Regions from separate parts of the Homo sapiens genome. Here region 1 is linked to region 2. The links are contacts of gene promoters, found by promoter capture Hi-C in blood cells and fetal thymus (Javierre and others, 2016). All regions are on one chromosome and are shown on one strand. The core of a region is centred on a gene start or on the middle of the fragment in contact, and the rest is flanking DNA. Distances in the headings are between cores, read along the strand shown. Region 1 overlaps IDH2 (isocitrate dehydrogenase (NADP(+)) 2). Region 2 holds the start of PEX11A (peroxisomal biogenesis factor 11 alpha).

What was found. The method cuts DNA at HindIII sites, captures the fragments that hold promoters and counts their contacts. A CHiCAGO score of 5 or more calls a contact.
Region 1: a contact is called between a fragment that was not itself captured here and the fragment with the promoter of PEX11A in region 2, in 1 of 17 cell types (megakaryocytes). The highest score is 5.1, in megakaryocytes.

The regions. Positions count from the first base shown.
Region 1 is chr15:90,091,824-90,099,295 of GRCh38, reverse strand. All of the region lies in intron 1 of IDH2 (isocitrate dehydrogenase (NADP(+)) 2), which reads left to right. Among named protein-coding and RNA genes, the nearest start is that of IDH2-DT, 6.6 kb to the left of the region's middle. RefSeq lists an enhancer at 3,346-3,870. The HindIII fragment of the contact is 4,065 bases long and covers 3,942-7,472 here.
Region 2 is chr15:89,687,609-89,694,547 of GRCh38, reverse strand. PEX11A (peroxisomal biogenesis factor 11 alpha) reads left to right here and starts at 3,794. Exons shown (of 3, transcript NM_003847.3): 1 at 3,794-3,971. The coding sequence starts at 3,916. WDR93 (WD repeat domain 93) reads right to left here and starts at 3,737. Exons shown (of 17, transcript NM_020212.2): 1 at 3,691-3,737. It also overlaps the pseudogene RPL36AP43. RefSeq lists an enhancer at 3,870-3,959. The HindIII fragment of the contact is 13,947 bases long and covers 1-5,430 here.

The DNA of each region.
Region 1 (7,472 bases), core at 4,725-7,224, 400 kb before region 2:
GGATGGTGCGAAGGCTGGCTCAGCAGGCACCAGGTGGAGTGACAGGATGAGGTTCGGCAGTGGGGTCTGTAGAGGGCTCACAGGCCATTTTTGAGAGCTTTCGCTTTTACTTTGCAGGGTTTTGAGAGGAGTATCGTTACCTGATTTCCATCTTATCGGGAGCATTCTAGCTTCAGGGACCTGGCAAGAGAGGATGATGGCTTGGACCTGGGTGGTGGCGCTGGGGATGGTGAAGAAGTGGTTGGATTCTGGATATATTTTGAAGGAGGAGCCAGTAGTGGGGAAAGGTTCCAATTCAGGCGATTTTACATAAAAATCTAGATACGCAGCAGGCACTCACTTATGGCAAGGGTGGGCTTGTCTGAGGGTGGCTTCTGGTTTTGGTGGTTTGGATGTGAGAGAAGGGAAGGAATGAAGGATGACACCAAGGAGTCTACTAGAGTTTGTTCCAAAATGGCTGTTCTGGCCGCGTGCGGTGGCTCCCAGGACTTTGGGAGGCCGAAGCAGGCGGATCAGTTGGGGCCAGGAGTTCGAGACCTGCCTGGCCACCATGGTGAAACCCGGTCTCTACTAAAAATACAAAAATTAGCTGGGTGTGGTGGCAGGCGCCTGTAGTCCCAGCTACTCAGGGGCTGAGGCAGGAGAATTGCCTGAACCCAGGAGGTGGAGCTTGCAGTGAGCCGAGATCACGCCACTGCCCTCCAGTGTAGGCGACAGAGTGAGACTCTGTCTCAATACATACATACATACATACATACATACATGCATGCATACATACATACATACATACATAAAATATACAAAGTTGCTGTCCTGCCTTCTTGAGCCCCCAGGAATTGGAACCTTTCCCCACTCTCTGATCTTTTGCTGGGACATGCTGACTGAGCAGCCTTTCTGCTGAGAGCATGGGTAGGAATGTGGAGGGAGCAGTTATGCCTGGGGCTGGCTGCCTGCGGCTGGACCTCTAGCCTCCTGCTGGGAGCAGCAAGAAGCCAGGGATGTGTTTTGAAATCCTTACTTGGTATTGGGTGCTAGGAGCCCCAGACAGGGAGGAGAGTCAGCCTAACGTGCCTCTGGTGACTGGTGTAATTCCATCCTGCACTCTCGCCAAGAGGACAGTGTTTGTGCAATGCATCAGCTGAAGATTCGTGGTGGCTGTCACTTCGGAGGTTTTCAGGGAGGCCTAGCTGCTGCTCTGTGTATTTCAGGTAGCTTGTCACCACTTATCTCTCAGAGAAGGGCAGACCATGGCTGTATCTCCACCATACAGGCTGAACAGCAGACAGGGGTCTCAAACTCCAGTGCCCTGGGCCACACTGGAGGGCACTTGGCTGTCATGGAGTGAAGGGAGAGGCCGCCTTCAGCCCAGCCCATCCTTGCCATGAGTGAGTGCCTGCTGCATTTCTAGATTTTTATATAAAATCTCCTGATTTTTTTTGACTGGTTTAAATTTTTATTATTTTGGTAAAAAACGTATAAAACTTACCATCTTAGTCATTGTTCAGTGTACAGTATTGTTAAGTACATTCGCACTGTTGTGCAGACATTACCACCATCCATCACCAGAACTTTGTCACCTTGCAAAACCGAAACTCTCTACCCATGAAACAATACCTCCCCACTTCCCGTCCCCAGTCCCTGGCAGCCACCTTTTTACTTTCTGTTTCTATGAATTTGACTATTCTAGGTACCTCATGTAAGTAGAAGCATATAGTATTTGTCTTTTGTGACTGGTTTATTTCACTTAGTTAGCATAATGCCCCCCAGGTTCATCCACTTTGTAGCAGGTGTCAGAATTTCCCTTCTTTTCAAGGCTGAATCATATTCCATTGTATGTAGATAACAGTAGTCCCCCTTATCCTTGGAGGATGCATTTCAAGATCCCCAGTGGATACCTGAAACTGCAAAGCCTGTAGATACTATGTTTTTTTCCTATACATACAGATCTATGATAAAGTTTAATTTATGAATTAGGAACAGTAAGAGATTAGCAATAATAACTAGTAATAAAATAGAACAATTATAACAATATACTGTAATGAAAGTTACATGAATGTGATCTCTTAAAATATCTTACTGTACTGTACTCACCTATTTTCAGACTATGGTTGACTGTGGGTAACTGACACCACAGGTAACTGACGTCATGGAAATAAAACCTTTGATAAGGGGGGACTGTATCACATTGTCTTTATCCATTCATCTGTGATGGACACGTGGGTTGCTTCTATCTTTTGCTGTTGTGAACATTGCTGCTATGAATGTGGGCATACATATATCTCTTTCAGACCCCGCTTTCGATATTTTTGGATGTATATACAGAAGCAGAATTGCTGGATCATATAGTAATTCTTGTCCTTTTCTTTTCTTTTTTTTTTTCGAGACGGAGTCTTGCTCTCTTTCGCCCATGCTGGAGTGCAGTGGCGCGATCTCAGCTCACTGCAAGCTCCGCCTCCCGGGTTCATGCCATTCTCCTGCCTCAGCCTCCCCAGTAGCTGGGACTACAGGCGCCTGCCACCACGCCTGGCTAATTTTTTGTATTTTTAGTAGAGTCAGGGTTTCACTGTGTTAGCCAGGATGGTCTCGATCTTCTGACCTCGTGATCCACCCGCCTCAGCCTTCCACAGTGCTGGGATTACAGGTGCGAGCCACCGTGCCCGGCAGTAATTCTTTTCCTTTTAGCTAAGGAACACCCATACTGTTTTCCACAGCAGCTGCACCATTTCACATTCCCACCAACAGGGCACAAGAGTTCCAATTTCTCCACATCCTTGCTAGCACTTTATTTTCTGTTTTGTTTTTCTTTTCCTGATAGTAGCTCTCTTAGTGGTTGTGAGGGGATAGTGGGGTGATATCTCATTATGGTTTTGATTTGCATTTCCCTGATGATTAGTGATGTTGAGCATCTTTTCATGTGCTTGTTGGCCATTTGTATATCATCTTTGGACTTGAAATGTCTATTTAAGTCTTTTGTCCATTATATTTATTTATTTATTTTGAGATGGAGTCTTCCTGTTACCCAGGCTGGAGTGCAGTGGCATGATCTCTGCTCACTGCAACCTCCACCTCCTGGGTTCAAGCAATTCTCCTGCCTCAGCCTCCCAAATAGCTGGGACTACAGGTGTGTGTCACCACACCAGGCTAATTTTTTTTCTATTTTTAGTAGACACAGAGTTTCACCATTGTGGCCAGGCTGGTCTCGAACTCCTGACCTCAAGTGATCTGCCCTCTTCAGCCTTCCAAAGTGCTGGGATTACAGGCATGAGCCACGGTGCCCAGCCAGTCTTCTGTCCATTTTAACGTTGAGTTATTTGTTTTATTGTTGAGATTTACTGATTTTTAAAACTTGGTCACCAATTAAGATTTTTTTAAAAAACCAGTACCTGGAACAAGCAGAACAAGTCTCTGCTGGCCTTGGCTCATGTTGCTGTTCTCAGTTCCCCTGGGATGTTTGCTTCCAGGGAGGCCTGGGCACTCCTGACTTTGGTGACAGCCCTGCTTGCTCTCTCTCTGTTACCTGTAGGTTTCCCCTTCCACATTCACTGCCTCCGGGCAGGCACTGTTGTGTTTTAGGCATTTCAGTATCCCAGTGGGGTACTGGATAAGTGCTTAGTTAGCACCTGCCGGTGAGTAAATAATCAGGTCCTGTGGTCTCTGAGGGTTTGACACATCAGGTCTTTGATCTTGACCTTGAACTCTCCTAGCCATGCCTGCCTGAAGCCCAACCGTGGAGCCCAGGCTGAGGCTGAAACCTGAAGAACTGGCCCCAAGTGAGTCTCTCCTTAGGGCTCCTGATTATGATAGTTCATTTTTTTTTTTTTTTAACAAATTTGATTAGCTGTCCTCAAATTAACTCATAGGAGATGCTCCCCAGAACTAAACTAGCTCTGCAACAGCTCAACAGACTTTCCGCAGGTTCTGCAGCTCTTTCCACTCAAGCTTCAGAAAAAAGTGAAGGAATATTGTAGATTGGGTTCAAAATCCCCATCGCGTCTTGGGAAAGGCAGTAGAGCCAGCAGCCAGCCACCTTTTGTTCTCTAGGGAATGGAATAGTCCAAGGCTGTGTTTGTGTTCTGCTTCTCTACATCTGACCCACGGGTCTTCCAGAGGCTGCATTTGGGTCAGGGACCTGGGCTCTATCTTGCCTCTGATGCAGACCACACTCTCTGAGTCTCATTATTCCCCCTAAATGATCTCTAAGATTATTTTTAGATTAAAAAAAAAAAACAAACTCTTTGCATATCTTTGGAAAGTCAGTTGTTTGAGGTCTGTTAGGCTTTAATCACTTTTGTTTTAAATGTGCCGAGGTGGTTTCTAGGCCTGCTTTTCACAGGTATTCTGTCCCTTGTCAGTTCTTCCCACCCAGTTTTTTTTGTTTGTTTGTTTGTTTTTTTGAGATGGAGTCTCGTTCTGTTGCCCAGGCTGGAGTGCAGTGCCGTGATCTTGGCTTACTGCAACCTCCACCTCCCGGGTTCAAGCGATTCTCCTGCCTCAGCCTCCTCGGTAGCTGGGATTATAGGCACGTGCCACCATGCCTAATTTTTCTATTTTTAGTAGAGATGGGGTTTCACCATGTTGGCCAGGCTGGTCTTGAACTCCTTACCTTGAGTGATCCACCTGCCTCAGCCTCCCAAAGTGCTAGGATTACAGGCATGAGCCATTACACCCAGCCCCAACCCAGTGTTTTCAAATAATCATTCTCTTCCCTTCACCTGATTTGCTGTGTCTAATCTAGAGTGGAGCTGAAGACACATCACCACCTCTCTAAGGACTGTGTGTAACACAAGAGTAATTGGGCTGTAAGTGAGGCTGAGGAGTGCTGCTTTGAGGAAAGGGCACAGCTCTCAGCTGAGCTGGTGAGATTTCCCTGTGACTGAAGTTTTATTAGATCTTGTTCCCTGCTCTGCATTTGCTGCTTCTTCCCAGGCTGTGGGCAGAGGAGCAGGCTGGTGCCCCGGTGCCCCTATCTGCTGCAGGCTGAGGTTCAACAAGCCTTGTCCAAGGCAGCTGTACTGATTCATTGTTAGGTGGCCAGTTCCTGAGTTTTCTTTGAAATTCACTTCCCAGACTGTTGGGTATTCCTGCGAGTCAGACTCTCCTTCAGTAGCGTCCCCTGCCCCCTACCCTCCACTGGTCTCCCTGGACCTCTGATCAGCCCCTCATTGAGTCCTTTGATGCTTCTCTGGTAGGACTGACCCACCTGCGTCGGCTGGGATCAAGGGTTCTGAGTTCCATTCGCAGGTGCTGTAAGCCTGTCCTTCCTGTTGAATAGGGTCAGAGTCCTCGTGACTCTGCTGTTTTCAAGCTCTGTAACCTTGGGCAGTAAGCTGTTAACCTCTCTGAGCCTCAGTTTCCCACACTTAAAATGGAGATAATGGCCAGGCGTGGTGGCTCACGCCTGTAATCCCAGCACTTTGGGAGGCCAAAGTGGGTGGATCACCTGAGGCTAGGAGTTCGAGACCAGCCTGGCCAACATGGCAAAACCCCGTCTCTACTAAAAATACAAAAATTAGCCGGGCCTGGTGGCGTGTGCCTGTAATCCCAGCTACTCAGGAAGCTGAGACAGCAGAATCGCTTGAACCCGGGAGGCAGAGGTTGCAGTGAGCCGAGATCACGCCATTGCATTCCAGCCTGGGTGACAGACCAAAGACTCTGTCTCAAAAAATAAATAAATAAATAAATAAATTAATTAATTAAATAAAATGGAGGTAATGATACCTCCTTGGGGTTGTTTTTGGGATTAAATGGAATCACATTGTACAGCATTGGTACACTGTAAGGCACATAGTAGGCACTCAATACCTATCTATACTATTTCCTTTATCACCACAAGTTAGTTGAGGGCTCTTGGGTTGCACGCAACAGACAAAGTTAGTGACTGGTTAACTTGGAGAGGATTTTATTATGAGCTACACAGCGTAGCTCATAGAATTGCAGGGAAAACTATAAAGAACTAAGTCTTGGACAAAAGTAATATCTTGGCATGGGCCTGTAGCCCCAGCTACTAAGGAGGCTGAGGTGCAAGGATTGCTTGAGCCCCGGAGTCTGAGCCTGGCTTGGGCAACAGAGAGAGATAAAGAGACCCTGACTCTAAACAATAAGTAAATACATAAAAGAGGACCCAGGCCCTCCTTAGGAACTGGATGGCAGGAGCCCCTGGACAACCTCTTACTGATTTGGTGCTGGATGAGGCAGCCGCAGCTAGCCAGTGTTCTTTGTGTTGATCTCCTCTGCCTTCATATTCCAGGGGGAGAGGGTCTGACAGGCCAGACTGGCCCCCACCCTCTTGGCCACTGGTGGGCTGGGCATGTTTTTGGGTAGTTCTACCTAGCCAGATTAAAGTGGGGGTGGGGTGGGGAGTCCAGCCAGCCTGGGCAACAGGGCAAGACTCCATCTCTACAAAAAAATTTTAAAATTAGGCTGGCACGGTGGCTCACGCCTGTAATCCCAGCACTTTGCGGGGGTCAAGGCAGGTGGATCACTTGAGGTCAGGAGTTTGAGACCAGCCTGGCCAACATGGTGAAACCCTGTCTCTACTAAAAATACAAAAAATTAGCCAGGTGTTGTGGTGCACACCTGAAATCCCCGCTACTTGGGAGGCTGAGGCCCGAGAATCACTTGAACTCGGGAGGCGGAGGTTGCAGTGGGCTGAGATCATGCCACTGCACTCCCACCCTGGGGGACAATAGCGAAACTTCGTCTCAGAAAAAAAAAAAATTAAAAATAGCTGGGTGTGGTGGCATGCGCCTGTAGTCCCAGCTACTTGGGAGGCTGAGGTCAGAGGATCACTTGAAGCCAGGAAGTCAATGCTGCAGTAAGCTATGATGGCATCAGTGCATTCCAGCCTGACCAATGGAACAGGACCCTGCCAAGAAAGAGAGAGAGAAAGGGAGGAAGGAACGAAAGGAAGGAAGGAAGGAAAGAAAGGAAAGGAAGGAAAGAAAGGAAAGGAAGTAAGTAAGGATGGATGGATCCAGGTGCTCTAAACCAGCAGTTCCCAAAGTTTTTGGCACCAGGGGCCAGTTTCATGGAAGACAATTTTTCCACGGGTGGCAGGGTGGTGGGCAGCGGGGATGGTTTTGGGATGAGTCAAGTGCATTACATTTATTGTGCACTTTATTTCTATTATTATTACATTGTAATATATAATGAAAAAATTATATAGCTCACCATAATGTACAATCGGGGGGTCCTGAGCTTGCTTTCCTGCAACTAGACAGTCCCATCTGGAGGTGCTGGAAGACAGTGACAGATCATCAGGCATTAGATTCTCATAAGGAGTATGCAACCTAGATCCCTCGTGTGCGCAGTTCCCAGGCATGAGCTCAGGTGGTAGTAGTGCTCACTCACCTGCAGCTCTCCTCCTGCTGTGTGGCCCAGTTCCCAACAGTCCGTGGACCTGCACTAAAGGCTGTGGCCTGGTCTGCTGACCTCTCTCCAGAGCCCACGGTACTAGTCCATGGCCTGGGAGT
Region 2 (6,939 bases), core at 2,545-5,044:
AAAGAAGTAACCCGGCCGGGTGCAGTGGCTCACGCCTGTAATCCCAGCACTTTGGGAGGCCAAGGCGGGCAGATCATGAGGTCAGGAGAGCGAGACCATCCTGGGTAACATGGTGAAACCCCATGTCTACTAAAAAATACAAAAAATTAGCTGGGCATGGCGGTGGGCACCTGTAGTCCCAGCTACTCGGGGGGCTGAGGCAGGAGAATGGTGTGAAACCAGTGAGCCGAGATCGTGCCACTGCACTCCAGCCTGGGCGACAGAGCGAGACTCCATCTCAAAAAAAAAAAAAAAAAAAAGAAATAACCCAACAATTTTTAAATATGTGCAAAAAATTTGTACAGATACTTAACCAAAGAAGATATACAGATGGCAGATAGACTCATAAAAAGATGTTCAGCATCATTAGTCATTTGTGAAATGCAAATTAAAATCATGAGATACCACTACACGTATATTAAAATGCCTAAAGTTAAAAAGATAGACCATGAAAGTGTTGTTGAAGATGTACAATAAGAATGCTCATACACACTATTGGGAAACCAAAATAGTACAACTGGTTTGGAAAACAGTTTGGCAATTTCTTAAAACGCTAATGTGGAGGCCAAAGCAACTCCATCTTAGATGCTAATCCTCCATGTTAACTTCTGATTATCCCCAGTTCCAGAAAAACCTCTAAGATTTCCATTTGACTCATTCCTTGTGTAAGAGCACCACTTACTGTAAATATTGCCCTTAGGTCAAAACAACCTTGATGTTATCATTCTTGCCATAAATTCTGTCCTTAAGCAATTATCTTACACATTCCTTCTGAAGCACCTTTCTCTATAGCACAGAAACCCTGGGTCTGGTGGATAATGGCAGGGATCCACCATCTTGTCTTGCTCCTGAGACATGGCTTCTGTTTGTTTGTTTAAATTGTATTTATTTATTAAATGTTTGTTTCTGAGAAACTGGGTATGTCAGCCTCTTGCTTTGGCCTCTCAGCTTTCTCAGACTTTTAGGGGTAGGTTTGCATAGGCCTGTCCCCTGCAGGACAGTTAAACACATTATCTACCATCATATCCAGTCATTCCACTCTTAGGAGTGGTAGAAGGGAACTGAAAACATATGTCCATACAAAGACTTGTACACGAACAGTCATTACAACTTTATTTGTAGGAGCCCCAAAGTGGAAACAACCCAATGTCCACCAACAGGCAAACAGATAAGCTCTCACGCATTGTCAGTGGTAATACAAAATAGGATAGCCACTTTGGAAAACAGTTTGGCAGTTTCTTACAAAGTTAAACATACCATATGTTTCAGCAATCACATTCCTGCATATTACAGTAGGAAAATTAAAACTTATGTTTCACATCAAAATCTGTACTTAAATATTTATAGCAGCTTTATTTATAATGGCTTCAAATTAGAGACAACACAAATGTACTTCAGTGGGTGAATGGATAATGAATTATAATACATTCACATTGTGGAATAAAAAATTACAAACTACTGATGTGCACAACATAGATAATCTCAAATGCATTATGCTAAGTAAAATAAATCAGAAAAGAAAAGAAAACGCTACATACTATATGATTCAATTTATATGATATTGTGAAAAAGGCAGAATTGTAGGTATAAAAAACAGATGAGGCCAGGCGTGGTGGCTCACACCTGTAATCCCAGAACTTTGGGAGCTCGAGGTAGGTGGATCACCTGAGGTCAGGAGTTCCAGACCAGCCTGACCAGCATGGTGAAACACCATCTCTACTAAAAATATAAAAAATCAGCCATGCGTGGTGGCGCATGCCTGTAATCCCAGCTCAGGAGGCTGAAGCAGGAGAATCGCTTGAACCCGGGAGACGAAGGGTGCAGTGAGCTGACATTGCGCCATTGCACTCCAGCCTGGGCAATAAGAGCAAAACTCTGTCTCAAAAACAAAAACAAAAAACAGATGATACACATCTGTGTTTAGAAGCACCCTGTGCTCACCTCTATCATCTAACATATCTCTGTGTTGTACTTATCAGTTTACTGTGTTCCTTGTTAACCTATTACCCTACGACTAGAGTTTAGCACAGTGGTTGGTATATGGCCAGGACTCAATAAATTCTCATTGCTTGCAGAATTGCCCTGACCTGGGCCACGTATTTAGAGAAAACTTCTGGCTCTCTTCGAGGCTCTTTCCTCTACAAAAAATGAGTAACCCATGGGGCCAAGGAGATATGCTCACCCAAAGCCTAGTTTCCCTCTTCTGGAGTCTAGACCATGTTCAGGGTACCAATACCCCTGGAATTTACTGCCCAAATGACACCATGGCCTGCATGAGCCCTTCTCAGCTTTCACCTGAGGGCAGACCCAGCTGCTAATGTGAGCACTCCTCGATCTGAAAAGGTGGCAAAGGCATGGCTGCTTGCAGAGGTACGGGCAGACGTTGGATGTGGCTTGGAGTATCAGGATGGTATACAAGGCTCCTGGCAGGGAATGCAGGTGGGCACCAGAAACCAGAAAAGAAAGGGAAGTGGGAAAAGACTGGGAGCCATTTCTCCCCACACTGCCATATTCCAGCTGTGTTTCCAGGTATTCTAAGGAGTCTAGGGATTCTGAAGATGAACCTGGCCTTCTACATCATTATGAGGGTCTATTTGTCAATGTAGGAAAACAGACTATATTTTACTTTACAATTTGTTGCTTGATTTATAACTAAAATATTTAAACATACGGTGTGCTGGACTCCATTTGTACTCTTACCCAGGGCCTGCAAATGTTAGGAGCTGGCCTGACCAAGGGAATAAAGATTACGAAAATGTTCACCTTATTTTATTTTATTTTATTTTTTTGAGACAGCGTCTCGCTCTGTCGCCCAGGCTGGAAAGCAGTGGCACAATCTCGGCTCACTGCCACCTCCGCCTCCTGGGTTCCAGCGATTCTCCTGCCTCAGCCTCCCGAGTAGCTGGGATTACAGGCGCCCACCACCACGCCCGGCTACTTTTTTTGTATTTTTAGTAGAGACGGGGTTTCACCCTGTTGGCCAGGCTGGTCTCCAACTCCTGATCGCAGGTGATCCGCCCACCTCGGCTCCCAAAGTGTTGGGATTACAGGCGTAAGCCACAGCACCGGCCGACCTTATTTTGTGGTTATAGAGGGTACATTTTATAAAATTACTGCCACGGAGTGGGTAAGGCTCCTTTTCTTCAAGCCGCACAGAACGAATGTTCAGCGGTGCAATTTCATTGCAATCTATTTTTGCTTCACTTTGCTCATAATGACTCTTTTAGGATTTCCTCAGGTAACAATCTTCTTTCAATGTTCAATAATCCAAGCAGAACATTTTCTCACTTCATCCGCCTCCCATGCTAGGTTCACACTGTGAAATTGGCTTATCTCTGACCTAACCACTTCCTTCACCAGACATAGAGCTGGTGTAGCTCAAGGGAAAGAGGCACGGCGCTGGGAAATGATTAGGCCCCACCGTCCCAAGCAAGAGCTCAGGGGAGTTCTGAGGCTGGAGAGACCATTCGGGATATCACCCCGGGTTCCTGAGAACCTGAGATCTGCGGGGAGGCGTCAGGCATCCGGAAACGCCCGAGTCTGGGGAGACGGACCCCCTCAGACTTTCCTCTAGGAGACTCTACAGGTAAAGGGGAGTCCTGGGACTCGAGGGGAGCCCCGGCATCCAAAGGTAAGATCAGTTTTGCTCACCTGGCCGGGCGGCGTTGCGTCGCCTTGGTAACCACAACTTCCGGCTTGAACCGGAAGTCCGCGAAGTTGCTCTACAGAAAGTGTGCCCGCCCCCTCTGGGGCGGAGAGACTCAGCCCCTCCCCCTCAGCGGATAACCTGGGACTGACCGTTCCCTGGGGATCCGACGGGCCCCAGAGGACCCACGCCTGAGCCCCGTGCGACTCGTGGCCTTTGGGCTAGAAGCCATGGACGCCTTCACCCGCTTCACCAACCAGACCCAGGGCCGGGACCGACTCTTCAGGTGAGTCAGGTGCCAGCGGCCTCCGCCCCTTTCTCGCCCTAACTCGGCTCCCGTGCCTATTCCCCTGCACCCGGGAAAAAGGAGGTGATAGCCTAGTAGATGGAAGCAGGAAGGACGTTGCCAGCTCCTACGGAGGGAGTTTAGTATCCGAGCCCCTCCTTACCCTAAATTCAACGTGAGTGGGCCCAACGCACCCGCGTCCCGTCCTAGCCCCGTGCACGAAAGCCCCAGTGCCTGGCACCCTAGCCGCCTCGAGACCGCCGACGACGGGACACCGGCTGACAGATCCTCCTCCCCTCCTAACTTTGCTCTCCGGGCACAGAAAGATTGGTTCTCTCCACTCAACATTCTTCCGAGGGATCTCCTTTAAAGAGAAACTTTGGATTAGTATTTGTGGCTAGGGAAGCAAACCACTTGGTGTGACTTCAAATATCTCTCTTTTTTTTTTCTTTTGAGACGGAGTCTCGCTCTGTCGCCCAGGCAGTGGCGCGGTCTCGGCCCACTGCAACCTCTGCCTCCCGGGTTCAAGCGATTCTCCTGCCTCAGCCTCCTGAGTAGCTGGGATTACAGGCGTGCACTACCACGCCCGGCTACTTTTTGTATTTTTAGTAGAGACGGGGGTTTCGCCATGTTGGCCAGGCTGGTCTCGAACTCCTGACCTCAGGTGATCTGTCCACCTCGGCTTCCCAAAGTGCTGGGATTACAGGTGCGAGCCACCGCGCCCGGTCTCAAATACCTCTTGAAATGTTTGAGGAGAGACAGAAGTTCTCTTCCATTATTACCCAGGCTGTATCATTGAGATACTGCATGTGGAATAGTTTTGTAAATTGTAAAACAAAATATAGCGGGGATGAGACCACACCAACTGGATTGGGGGGAAATACAGTGGGGAGAAGCTCAGAAAGAACTAACTGCACCTCTAAGGTTCATGCTGTGCTACTGAAAATATTAAACAGAGATTGTGTCTCTTTTTCTTTTGGTTCCATAAGAAACGAAAAGAACTGAGAGATTGTATCTTTAATACGAATACAGTACTAGTTCATGATGTTTTAGAGATTTGGTTGATTCTTGCTTAATGAAAAAATATTTACAGTTGCAGTTTTATTTAACAGCTCTGCATTCTCTTCTGGGTGTGCAAGTGCTGATACAAACAGATCAATTAGAATGGCCCCAATAATGAGGCTTTTGGAAGCCATCTTTATGACAGCTATTGTTCCCAGTGTTTTGCAACTATGAACTTATATAACCCTCATCACAACCCTATGAGGTAGATACTCTAAATATTTTACCCACTTCAGATGGAGAAACTGAAGCAGAAAGAGGTTAATAGGTACTACAATGGCAGAACTGAGGGATTCACATCCACGCAAATGACTCCAGTGCCCACTTAACTACCAAGCTATACTGGCTTTCTCATTAGTTTGATAGGTTTTTTAAATGGTTACTTTATATACAAGCTTCATTAAATAGAAATTTCATTAAATAGAAACCTGTAATTCCAGTGTACCTAGAATGTACCCTGCAGGGTTTATCAAGGAAGTTGGTTAAAAAAATAATCATTTAGGCCGGGTGCAGTGGCTTACACCTGTAATCCCAGCACTTTGGGAGGCTGAGGTGGGCGGATCACAAAGTCAGGAGATCGAGACCATCCTGGCTAACATGGTGAAACCCTGTCTCTACTAAAAATACAAAAATTAGCTGGGCGTTGTGGTGGGCGCCTGCAGTCCCAGCTACTCAGGAGGCTGAGGCAGGAGAATGGCATGAGCCCAGGAGGCAAAGCTTGCAGTGAGCCAAGATCACGCCACTGCACTCCAGCCTGGGCAACAGAGCGAGACTCCTTCTAAAAAAAAAATAAAAACATTAAAAATAATAATCATCATCATTTAGGCCGGGTTCAGTGACTCACACCTGTAGTCCCAGCACTTTGGGAGGCTGAGGTGGGCAGATCATGAGGTCAGGAGTTCGGGACCAGCCTGGCCAACATGGTGAAACCCCATCTCTACTAAATATGCAAAAATTAGCTGGGCGTGATGGCACATGCCTGTAATCCCAGCTACTCAGGAGGCTGAGGCAGGAGAATCGCTTGAATCCGGGAGGCGGAGTTTGCAGAGAGCCAAGAACGCACCACTACCCTCCAGCCTGGGCAACAGAGCGAGACTCTGTCTCGAAAAATAATAATAATAATAATTTAAGATATGTTTATTCCAAAAGATCTGAGATCTCTAGCATTCATTTCCCAACCTCCTTGATGATCTGTATAACCTTTATGACCACACTGGCATTCATAAAATAATACCTTGCTTTCTGTGCCAATAATGCTCATGCAAACACGGTGAACATTCCTAAAACCTGTCAGACTGTAAGAAGTGTGGCAAGCACCAACCCCACAAAGTGACATAGTACAAGAAGAGCAAGGATTCTCTGTATGCCCAGGGAAAGCAGCATTATGACAGGAAGCAGAGTGGCTGTGGTGGGCAGACTAAGCCGATTTTCCAGAAAAAGTCTAAAACTACCAAGAAGTTTGTGCTAAAGCTTGAGTGTGTTGAGCCCAGTGAAGATCTAAGAGAATCCTGGCTATTAAAAGATGCCAGCATTTTGAACTGGGAGGAGATAAGAAGAGAAAGGGCCAAGTGATCCAGTTCTAAGTATCATCTTTTGTTTTATTATGAAGACAATAAAATCGAGTTTATGTTCACTTCAAAAATAAATAAATAAAAGTAATGTCTTACTGTTGGCCTGATCCTTATTATTAGACCAAAGCTCAGAAAGGCAGAATCATTGACATGACCAGTCCTGTAACCAGGAAGGACACTTAAAAAAGAGAAAGCGATTGTTTATGATTCCAGTCTTCTCTTTTTATTTCATTCCTAGTAACAAGTTCACTATTTTAGAAAATGAAAATGTACCGCATTTTTATTGAGAATAATATTTATAGCATAAAGGGATTCAAATGCACTTACAAGACAGT